Linked DNA regions of Homo sapiens: region 1 is linked to region 2. The links are contacts of gene promoters, found by promoter capture Hi-C in human tissues and cell types (Jung and others, 2019). All regions are on one chromosome and are shown on one strand. The core of a region is centred on a gene start or on the middle of the fragment in contact, and the rest is flanking DNA. Distances in the headings are between cores, read along the strand shown. Region 1 overlaps CDKL5 (cyclin dependent kinase like 5). Region 2 holds the start of RS1 (retinoschisin 1).

Region 1 (5,020 bases), core at 2,521-5,020, 48 kb before region 2:
TGCCAGGTGTGTTTCTGAGTTATATAGTCACAAAGATCGTATCTGGGATTTTAGGGCTTGCGTTAGAAGGAAAATATGTTTGCCTTTTGATCGCGCTGTGGGTTGGAATGCACCTTATCTCCTGGGAGCCCTTTGCCTGAACAAAGAGCTGGCTCCATGGGACCGTTCACATCACTTCACTGAACCACCCAAGCAAGGATCCTGCTGGTTTAGTGACATGAGAACCTTGGGGAAACCCGGCCTGTAGGACAGCAGCAGGAGTAGTTCTTCCCCTAGATGAGGCTGCATCCCCCTTTTCTTTATGACAACTTCAAGGCTAAACAAGGTAGAGTTAGCCGTTTTTATTTATTTATTTATTTTAGAGACAGGGTCTCACCCTGTTGCCCAGGCTGGAGTGCAGTGGCATGATCTCAGCTCCCTGCAACCTCTACCTCCTGGGCTCAAGTGATCTCCCACCTCAGCCTCCCAAATAACTGGGTGCACGCCATCACACCCAGCTAATTTTTTGTATTTCTTGTAGAGACAGGGTTTCACCATGTTGCCCAGGCTGGTCTCGAACTCCTGAGCTCAAGCAATCTGCCCACTTAGGCCTCCCAAAGTGCTAGGCATGAGCCACTGTGCCTGGCCTAGTTAGCCATTTTGAATGGTTTTGGTTCTAGTTTTACTTCATACGTAATTTATTCTTATTTATTTGAAGAGGAAAAAGACACAATCAAAATGGCCTGTTCAGATGGACTTCACTGATTTCATCTATAAGTTTAGTAGATTAGACCCAGTGTTTCTGAGGCCCTTTCTATTATGAAAATTATAGAATTATGACTCAATGGGAAGTAGATTAGGTAGATGTTCATAGCAATGTGTATAAATAACCTGAAGTAAGCATTTTTATCTCACAGATGTTCTAGAAATGTTAACAAATACCTTCCTAGATAATCTTTCTAGATCATTCTTTCACTTGCTTGCTTGTTAAATTTATGTATTTCCTTATAAAATAAATATGAGTTCATTATAGAAAATTTGAGAAAAAGAAAAAGATCGTTTTAAATCTTAATACCCTACCACAACTAGTATTAGGATTTTGGTATATTTTCCTCCAGCTGTTTAGCCTATGCATATGTTTGTGGCAAGAAGGTGGGGTTTTTTTTTGTTTGTTTGTTTTTTAAGTTTTAAATTAGAGCAATCCTTTTAGTACGATTTTGTATTCTGGCTTTTAACAGTTTATCTATCTATATCTACATGCACAGAATATGTATGTTACTACAAATACTTTATTATCTTCAATCCTAATGGCTGCATAATATTTCTGAAGTAGTCATTAAAAAAACTGCCCATATTTTTAACTGAAGCTTACTTTTAAAGTGTCAAATCAAAATGCCACTCAGTCAGATACTACTATAATTGTTACTTAAACTGGGTGAACAAATAGACCTGATTTAACATAGGAATACTTAAAATGTTTAAAGTGTTAATAAAACTTTTATCATTGTCTGTAGAACATGTTTCTCTATCATGAGCGTTAAACTTTGGCTACCTCCTGACCACTGTTATTTTTATTTTGTGGTTTTTGTTCTAAACCACAGGTCTCCTGGCATTGTGGGGTGATTAAGTGGTAGAAAGTAGGAAAGATTAAGGAATTGAAGGTGTTTTTGTATATAGATTTAGATTTTGATGTTTACTGTAGAGCAACATTAAACCTAAAGTCCCTGGCTCACTGTGGCACAAGTAGAGTATACATGTTGGCTGACTTTATTATTCAGAATTTAGTTAAATTTTAGATATTTTAGTAATATAGATTAGAGTAAAAAGGAAAATAACCATTCTCTAACATCCTCTCGACTTAAACTTTTTATTAGGTTTTCATAAGTTTCCTTTTTGATATTAAAGTAACTGTAGAATATCTCTGCATAGGCCATAATGCCTTAAGCTTTACCAACCCAAAAGTTGTTTGTATCTCTGCATCTTTTAATTAAATGAAACATAAAATTTAAGGGCTTTGGGATTTCCAAAGAGCGCTCAGTACAGCCTTCCAAACCTCAGAGTCCTACGCCTGACATTGGGTTAACTCTGCCTACTTTGAATGAGCATTTAAACTGTTAATAGTTTTTCACTTTCTAGAACTCAGCAAAAAGAAACTACATAGAATAAGCTTCAAAAGATTTAAGGCATTGTGGCCTTTGCATAAGATTCCAAAAGAATGAAAATCTGATGCCCAGTGTACATAGAGACGCATGACATGTTAAAGCTGAGGTGGATCCTAAATCTAGTTGAATTTTTTTATTCACTGGTATAGGAACTGAGCCCAAGCAAGTTGTGGGCTTGCTTCAAAGCCCAAAAATCACATAATCAACTGGGAGAACCAGAACTGCGTTCTCCTAAATACCAAGTCCAGGCTCAATTCATACCATGGACCCGCCTCTGTGGGGAGCCTCTAGGAGCTCTCCTCTGGCCTCTTCAGCGATGCAAGTTAAACTCTTCCTCGAGGTTCCTGTCATTGGAACAAGAAAATTTGTGGGATGTTTTACTCAAATCCCTTTTTACATATACCCTTAAAAGATTACCTAAATACTTGAATACCTTCATAGACATTCTAGTTCTCTGACAATTGAGATATCCAAAACAGGGAAAAGTGGTGACAAAAAAAAATAATTCTGTATTGTAAAGGTGCCTGCTTCGACTCAAGCAAATCTGGAAGCTGCCTTGGGAAATCTGGCTTTGGTTACATATCCAGAGTTACATAAGTCCTCAGAGCATATGGTGACTTTGCCAACTTGGTAATTGTATCCTAGTTAGTTAGTATCTCAACTTGTGATGATGCTTCCATTTAAATATTGAAATTTCTGTTTCTTCTCTTTGAAAACCAGTATCTGAATTGTGCTAGATGTTTTCCATTGGGTAAATATTTCTAGCAGTACAGAACAAGGCCTCTTACTCAACATTAGTATCCCACCACAGTGATCAATACCTCTTCCTAGTGATGTTTTCAGGCTTAAAAGTTGACCAAATTCGAAAGGGTTTCCAGTATGTTGGGATTTTTTTTCTCCTAATAGGCAAATTACATGGTAGATTTTTTACTTGCTGAAGTCCTCTCTAGCAATTAGGAGAAGATTGAAGTTTATCAGTAGCTCTTTAACACAGTTCTTTATAACCATATTTCTGATAGTAAGTAAAAATTATTTAACGTTTTATAAGCTTAATGTGAGTAGGTGTGTCTAGGTCTCTTGGCATTCCTACTAGAGGTATTGATCATGATCTCACATTATATACTTAGAAGAAGTTTGTGCTTGTCTTGAATTTGCATTATTGACATCTTCACATCCAGGTGAGAATTGGCACAGAAGCTCTAGATGCACAGCACCGAGATTCTTTCAGTGACTGTTAATATTTAGCAATTTGAGGGCTTCCAAGGGCTAGTAGTTTCAATAAGAGCACTTTTTTTTTTTTTTGCAATTAGTTTATTTGTATCTTATATTGCAGACAGATTCCACCAACGGGGAGAATCCAAGCATCAAGAAATCCCTCTTTCCTCTTTTTAATTCAAAGAATCATTTAAAGCATAGTTCTTCTTTGAAAAAGCTTCCTGTAGTCACTCCACCCATGGTACCCGTTTTTATGTATGGTAGCCCTGAAAACTGCTCCAGTAAACTTGTTTTACTGATGACAACAGCATGTCTTATTTTCATGAGGTCATATTCTCTTTATGCTAGTTAAGTACGTGAGCCAGTTCCATAAATTCACTGGGATATAAATTCATTGCCATTCTTCTGAATCAGTTAAGAAAGTTGAAGCACAAAGTCTATTAAGCAAACAAACTAGTGAAAGGCTAGTTTGTCATGTCTGATTAGCCAGTTATGGGCAGATAACATTTATAAAAGCCTGTATTTTATGTAAGGAATTCTGTTAACATTTACAGTTAACAAATATCTTTGCATTTGACTCACAGAGTTTGTTAACACTTGATTGGCAATTTGTCTTTTTGAAGCCAAGTTGAATTGACCAAATTGAATGAGCTAACAGGCTCCATGAAAAAACAGCTTGTTTCCTTGTCTGGCTTGAGCTTTTGCTGGTCAGTTTAAAACCAGGGCTTTTGCTTGGCATTTGACATTACTCTTCTGTGTTCACCAAAACTGGTGAATAGAGCAATTGCATTCATCTGGAATTTGTGGCACAGATTTCCAGCATTTCTCTAGTACATAATGATAGATCCAGATATATCAGACAGTGGTTTGGGAATATGATCCAAACCATACTTTCTCACTTTGCTATCCTTGAAAGCCTACCAGACTTCTTTGGCACTACCATATACAGTGTTTGGATCATTTTCCCAGCAGGAAAAAATTTCTGTTTTATTGAACTGGTTCACAACCTAACTGCAATATGGAATGAGGATACGACAGCAATTCCTGGTACAGCCCTATTTAACTGCTCTCTCTTACAGCGACTAAAACTAACAGCATGGGAATGCTTTAAGGGTTGAGGTTTAACAAAGCTGCATGACATCTGCCAATTTTTCCTAATGCAGGGAAAATTATTAAGAGGGCAGAAGAATTTAACTAGCATCACTTGCATTGTGAACATTGGGAGAGATTGGGGTTCTATTTTTACTGGGTTATTTGAGTTTTGGTTTGGTTTGCTTTTTAGTTTGGTTCTCCTCTTGGGTGTGGTTGCATATCTTAATTAGGCTTCTCAGTGTGCTTATTGAATGCTTGTCCATATTTTGCTCTAGGTACCCAATTCCGACAGCCCTGATCTTCTGACGTTGCAGAAATCCATTCATTCTGCTAGCACTCCAAGCAGCAGACCAAAGGAGTGGCGCCCCGAGAAGATCTCAGATCTGCAGACCCAAGTGAGTGGATCCTGCACCACTGCTAGACTCTCCAACTCTCCAGTAACTGTCCTGAGGAGCGGGGAGGGCATGCTAGAGAAAACTTAGCCTCTCAATGTTACAGTAAGGCTGAGCACCTCCTCAAAATAGACCCTCAGTTATAGCCAGATGCATCTCGTGAGCCAGGATGAATCTTGC
Region 2 (6,749 bases), core at 927-3,426:
GTTGCAGGGCACCTGGAGAGACGATGTTCTCTGCTCTTCGTGGACATTTCTGGAGCTCCCCAGCCATGCACAAAGATTGGTAAACTTTAGAACACGAAAGAGTGCTATCCTTCATGCCTCCTGACAGCCTGTCTTTTATTGCTGATATCCACTAACTGGGCAGGTCTAATTTTAAAATGCTTTGGTAAACATTTCTAGGACTTCTTCGCATCGCGGGGGTGGGGAGGTCACAGAACAGGGTTGTTAGACTCAGCACTGTGGAAGAAACAAGGATGCCCTGCATGTCAAGTCCTTTTTTTTTTTTTTTTTTTTGAGACTGAGTCTCGCTCAGTCACCCAGGCTGGAGTGCAATGGCATGATCTCAGCTCACTGCAACCTCCCTCTCCAGCAATCAGACGATTCTCCCGCTTCAGCCTCCCCCGAGTAGCTGGGATTAGAGGCACCTGCCATCATGCCCAGATACTTTTTGTATTTTTGTAGAGACGGGGTTTCACCAGGTTGGGCAGGCTGGTCTCAAACTCCTGACCTCAGGTGATAGACCCGCCTCAGCCTCCCAAAGTGCTGGGATTACAGTCATGAGCCACCGCGCCCCGCCGTCATACACAATGTTTGCCCCCTAGCAGATAGTCAGGGATGAGCTCTTAAAAGAAGGGACCAAGGAATGAATGAATGAATCTCCATGCCAATCACAAAGAAGAGAAATCCGAGAGTGAGCCCTGGGAGTGTCTGACAACCAGGAGTATTTAGATCTAAGCCTTGAAAGAGTCTGCTTAGATTTTCTTGCTGAGGAAAGAGGAGGGGGCAAGGAGTAAAAGGAAAAACAACAAAACCCCAAAGCATCTTAAAGTAGTCAGAGTTACTGGGACAAGTTGCAGACTATTAATTGCAAGGGGAAAAAATCCTAACAGACAACTGGTTTACATGATCCCTACTTAGAAATATACCTTGGGGTTTGCAGAATGACCTTGGAATTATATTGTCACCAGTCTTTCCAAATACTGAGAAATGTGACTAAGTAACAAAAGTCATCAGCCTGGGAAACATGGTGAAAACCCCTCTCTACAAGAAATACAATAAATTAGCCGGATGTGGTGGTGCGTGCCTGTAGTCCCAGCTACTAGGGAGGCTGAGGCAGGAGGATGGCTTGAGCCTGGGAGGTTGAGGCTACAGTGAGCCGTGAAACCAAGAATTCTGATTCTACTTGTGTGAGTTTCGCTGTGTCTGTCTACCAGGTCATTTGCAGAGCACAGAGACCTCCTTCTCCCTGCTTTTTAATTTATTTTCTATAACACACAAATACACGATGTCCACAAAGAAGACAGGCAACCAATTTCTAACATCTGGATGAACCTGAGGAGAAATTCTGAGCAGATGGGTACTTGAGAATTGAGAGAGGCATGAAAGAATATTATTTCAAAGATTGAGAGGGAATTGGAACTGGATGACATTTTACAGATTTGCCCTTATTTTTTCCTAATTGAAGCATATCACTTCTGCTAGGGTCATATTTAGAAATTTTAAAATGAGTGAGTGTACTGAGTCTCCGAGGTTTCCTGACTCTCAGTTGGATTATGTTTTTTATTAGATTCCAGTGGTACTGGGTATGTTACGTTAATCCATATTTAAACTAGGTTGACCTTACACCCCAATTTGCCCTGGATGGTCCTGGGTTACACCTGTCGTCCCAACAGAATTATTAATAGCATCGTCCTCCACCGTCAATAGCATTCCGGTTTGGAATATTAAATTCTACAATCACTCCCACTTTGACTCCTAAAAGTTTTCCAGAATATGCCATACTTTCTCATTAATTGTTGCAACTTATGGCTATTTTATAGATTTCTGAGACCCATCCTGTTTTCTGTTGGATTTTAAGCATCCTTTGAACTTTAGAAGGCTCCTCACAGAACTGGAAAGCCATCCACACAAAGACAACTGTTGTTCATTAATAACACATGTTAGTTAATTAACGTGTTGCTAATTAATAATATTTATATTATTCAGGCTATATTCCTATTTATCAACGATATTAATTAAATTATGTATTAAGTATGCAATGAATGTCAATGGTTGAATAGCACATACCTTCATAGCCAAAGAGAAGTAATAACAAAAAGCCTTCTATCTTGCGTGACATCTTCCCCTCGTCCTCGGCCAAAGCTCTACCTTACTGAACTGGAGAGCTGGCCCAGGAGCAGGGGATTAAGTTGAGCCCTGGCCTCATTAAGCATCTTAATCCATTTAGTTCTTAGGTCTTTGGCTGAGCCCCATCAAGTTAACCCACAGAGTTACCTGCCTCAACAAGGAAGTCTCATGGAAGATACTAGCATCAACTGAGATTCAGTTCGCGAGGAAGATACTTTTCGTTCTTTTTTTTTTTTTTTTTTTTTTTTTTGAGATGGAGTTTCGCTCTTGTCACCCAGGCTGGAGTGCAATGGCGCCATCTCGGCTCACTGCAACCTCTGCCTCCCGGGTTCAATCTAGTCTCCTGCCTCAGCCTTCCGAGTAGCTGGGATTATAGGCTCACGCCACCACGCCCAGCTAATTTTTGTATTTTTAGTAGAGATGGGGTTTCGTCATGTCAGTCAGGCTGGTCTCGGACTCCTGACCTCAGGTGATCCACCCACCTCGGCCTCCCAAAGTGCTGGGATTACAGGCGTCAGCCACTGCGCCCGGCCCATACTGTTCATTCTATCTTAATGTAAGGGAAGCAATGGAGGGAGAGAACTACAACCAGAAGTCTCAGGTTTTCGTCCTTTCTTCGCCATCATTTTTTAGGGGGTGACCTTGAACAATTTCCTGCCACATAAGCACTAACATTCTCGAATTGTATGAAAATGTCATGGATTCCCCTCTTTGAAAGCAACTAGGCATCATGTGCACACCTATTCACTCAGGAAAATGCTAAATTTGGTGGTGGTGGGAGGACAGTTAACACAAAGCTGTGCATTGCTGTGTTACTTTTAACAACAACAAATTGGAAACAATCTAAATGGCCAAGGTTAGGGGGCTGGTTAAGTAAATCAAGAGATGAGTGCAGCCTGGTAGGTTTAAGAGCACAGACTGCCAACCCAGACTGGGTGCCAAATCGCAGCACTAGCACTTGTTACATTGTGACCTCAGGGCAAGTTATTAATATCTCTGCGCCTAAACTTTCTCATCTGTAAGATGATGATAATAATGCCTACTTTCGAGAGTTATTTTGAGGCTTACAAGAGATCATATGTATAAAATACTTAGCACAGTGCTAGACATAATTAGCTATTATTTTTACATCACCATTCAGAATAAAGTTGATGGGAGGAAAAGGGGAGTTGTTTAATAGGTATAGAGTTGAGTTTTGCAAGATGAAAAAGTTCCCGAGATCTGTTTCACAACAATGTGAATATACTTAACACTACTGAACTGTACACTTAAAAATGATTATGGTGGGCTGGAGGTGGTGGCTCACACCTGTAATCCCAGCACTTTGGGAGGCCAAGGCAGGCAGATCACTTGAGGTCAGGAGTTCGAGACCAGCCTGGGCAACATGGCGAAACCTCGTCTCTACCAAAAATACAAAAATTAGTCGGGCGTGGTGGCGTGCACCTATAATCTCAGCTACTCGGGAGGCTGAGGCAGGAGAATCGCTTGAACCCAGGAGGCCGAGGTTTCAGTGAGCCGAGATTGTACCACTGCACTCCAGCCTGGGTGACAGAGCCAGACTCTGTCTCAAAAAAAAAAAAAAATGGTTAAGGTGGTTTTAAAAAAGGCCGGGCACGGTGGCTCAAGCCTGTAATCCTAGCACTTTGGGAGGCCGAGGCGGGCGGATCACGAGGTCAGGAGATCGAGACCATCCTGGCTAACACGGTGAAACCCCGTCTCAACTAAAAATACAAAAAATTAGCCGGGCGAGGTGGCAGGCGCCTGTAGTCCCAGCTACTCGGGAGGCTGAGGCAGGAGAATGGTGTGAACCCGGGAGGCAGAGGTTGCAGTGAGCTGAGATCACGACACTGCACTCCAGCCTGGGCGACAGAGTGAGACTCCGCCTCCAAAAAAAAAAAAAAGAATAAAGTTGATGAAGTGATTGTAATAACAGGGAAAGAGTTACACTCAAGTTAGAAAAAGACGCAAATTTCTACACTGTTAAGGATGCATAACTAGGTTGAAAATGCAGAGAAAAATACTGAGTGCCCCTTCCCATTTTATATTTTTTGCTACCACCATCTCACCATGGCCCACACCCTCATTCCTCTTGTCAAAGATAAAAAAGCCAATATTTAAACAAATAATAAACTCCCCAAAGGAAACTGTAATGAAATAGTAAAGAGGAACAGAAAGAAACTAGAGAAACGTTTGCTCATTCAACCAGTATTTATTGAATGTCTACAAGCCTGACATTTATTTTATACTGTGTATGAACTCTATTCCACAAATTCTACTGCTGCATTAAAAGGGACTGTGGGGTTTTTTTTTTTTCGTGCTCTGCACATCAGAGTTTAATGAAAAATAGAACTTTTAATCAGAGTCATAATCATGACCGACCTTTAATAATTCACCTGCAGTCAAAGCGCTGCTGTATTGCCTGCCACATTTTAGTTGGAGGTTGGGTGGCCGGCCCTTGCTGGCTTGCAGGCAAAGGGCAGCCAGGTGCATTCCCCGAGCGCCCGATTTTCCGAGGCGTACTGGGAGGAGAGGTGGGGTAGGGCCCGGCCGGATCGGGGGCGCCGGATCGGGTCTAGGACTTCGCCCGGCCCCTGCCCTCCACTACTTCTCATGTCGGACTATGGCGGCAGTGACCTTGTGGGATAGGAGAGGGTATCTGTCATTTCACTTCTGCGAGAAAAACATGCCAAAAAATTAAAAAGAAAAAAAGGACAAAGAAAAACACTTCGTTGTCGCTTTTTGGTTTTTTTTGTTTGTTTAACCCAAACCCTTTTTTTTTTTTAACCCAAACAACGAAACCCTATAAAAGCAAAAACAGCCGCCTTACGGCTATGGTTCCACTGGGGCTCGAACCCAGGACCTTCTGCGTGTAAAGCAGACGTGATAACCACTACACTATGGAACCTCTACGAGGAAGAATATTGTTGGGACTTTATTCATAGACTCACAGCAGTTCCGGTCCCTCCGCCGGAGCCCCGCCTCTCCACCGTGACCCCGCCCCCGAGGCGAGGAGTTTGCGGCGGCTTCGAGTCTCGGGCTCCGGCGTTTGGGCGGCTTGTCTTCCCTGCCCGCCACAGTCGCGGCCCCTGGGACCAGGGCGAGGCCGGAACCCCGGCCGAGAGCACCTCCCTGCTATCATCTGTCCCCAAACTTTCCCTCAATCGAGGCGCCGGCGGGGCGGCCCGGCGGCCGGAAGTGCACCCTGCTCGGGCTTTGCGCCCCCGGCAGCTTCCTCCGCCCGCGAGGGCCCCGCGCCTTCCCATTTTCCCAACCGGCAAACTGAGCCTCGGCCACCCGGCCCACTTGCCGGTCGGAAGTCAGGACGTCGCCGCTTGCGGCGGCGTGGAAGGCTTCGCCTCCGGAGCAAGGAGGACGGGCCGCTGGTTAGCGGGCCCTTTGCCCGAGGGTGTGGACCTCTACCCGCTCCCCTGCCCCTTCCCGCAGCCTTCTTCCCCTCCCGAGGACAGGCCTAGGGGGTGCAAATGCCAGGGCTTCCGTTAGGTCTCCTTAGTCTAGGGCTGCAGGGGTTGGGGGACGAAGACGTGTAGACGGGGCCACCCGTCTATGGCTTCCAGGGTGGCAGCGGCCCTGGCCACGTGATTGAGGGGCCCAGTGCAAAATGAAGATGCCAGGCCCCTTGTTAAGTTTTTGAGAATTTCACACGGTAACAGCAGAGTATTCAACCTGGTGCGGGGTCCCTGACTTGCTTGCAGGACTGTAGTCTGGGTAACGGGCTGGGACCCTCCATCACAAAGGGTGATTCTTGTTTTTCATCGTCAGTGTCATTTGCCTTCTTCAGGGCTTCCAGGTGGATCTTCGTCACCACCCTAGGATTGCTCACCATTCTCAAGCTTGAAAACCCACCTGCAATCATTTGGGCGGGGGGGGGGGGGCATCTTTAAGCGCCCAGGTGAACTTGGTCTGCAGGCAGCAGCTGTCCTTTTCTCTGGATCTTCTGCTGAGGTCGGTAGGTTGATAAGTGATACTGATTTTGTGGCAGGAACTCCCTTCAGCCAACTCCTGTCTTCCTGGGAAGGCCTCTGGAAGAAACCAGGTGGGTGCAGGGAACACTAAGGTGGGGATCTGGATGTTCGTCTTGATTTGGCCATTCATGAGCTGGGTGCTCGAGCTAGTCAGTTCACCTCTGGTCTCAGTCTCCTCCTTTGTAAATACAAGGGTTGGACTAAACACGTCCCCTTTCACCTCTGGGTCTCAATGTTATGCCCATCTTCCACGTAGGAAAACGGAGGCAGTTATCTGCCATGTAATCCCCCCCACACACACACCCCCGCCCCCCGCCCAGAAGTAGAGGCAGGCCAGCTAGTGGCGTGGGTTTTTCTAGTACCCGTTTCCCGATGTCCTCAGTTAGCTCCCTGTCATATTCATCATGGGGCCCCCTTCTAGTCTGCTTTTTTGGTGAGACGTTTTCAGAGGCCTCTCGAGCGCTTGATGCCTAGATTGTGGGCCACGAGATGACCAGAGTGGCCAGCCACCGGCCGGAGGATACGTTCCTGAGAGCTCCACGTTTCCCACTAGTCAGTGAGCCTCAGGACTCCTGGGAAGCCTGATAATAAGTGTATCCCACCTGTTTCCAAACCCCTAGC

The links. The method cuts DNA at HindIII sites, captures the fragments that hold promoters and counts their contacts. A contact is called where the count stands out against the background at its distance.
Region 1: a fragment that was not itself captured here is called in contact with the fragment with the promoter of RS1 in region 2 in 2 of the 25 tissues and cell types used here (dorsolateral prefrontal cortex and heart left ventricle).

What each region holds. Positions count from the first base shown.
Region 1 is chrX:18,620,405-18,625,424 of GRCh38, forward strand. CDKL5 (cyclin dependent kinase like 5) reads left to right here. Exons shown (of 18, transcript NM_001323289.2): 17 at 4,724-4,843. Among named protein-coding and RNA genes, the nearest start is that of RS1, 49 kb to the right of the region's middle. The HindIII fragment of the contact is 4,270 bases long and covers 1,636-5,020 here.
Region 2 is chrX:18,669,932-18,676,680 of GRCh38, forward strand. RS1 (retinoschisin 1) reads right to left here and starts at 2,177. Exons shown (of 6, transcript NM_000330.4): 1 at 2,086-2,177. The coding sequence starts at 2,137. It overlaps TRV-TAC1-2 (tRNA-Val (anticodon TAC) 1-2), which reads right to left and starts at 5,050; the gene lies at 4,978-5,050. It also overlaps a transcript of PPEF1 not described here. RefSeq lists a silencer at 4,975-5,161. The HindIII fragment of the contact is 16,600 bases long and covers 1-6,749 here.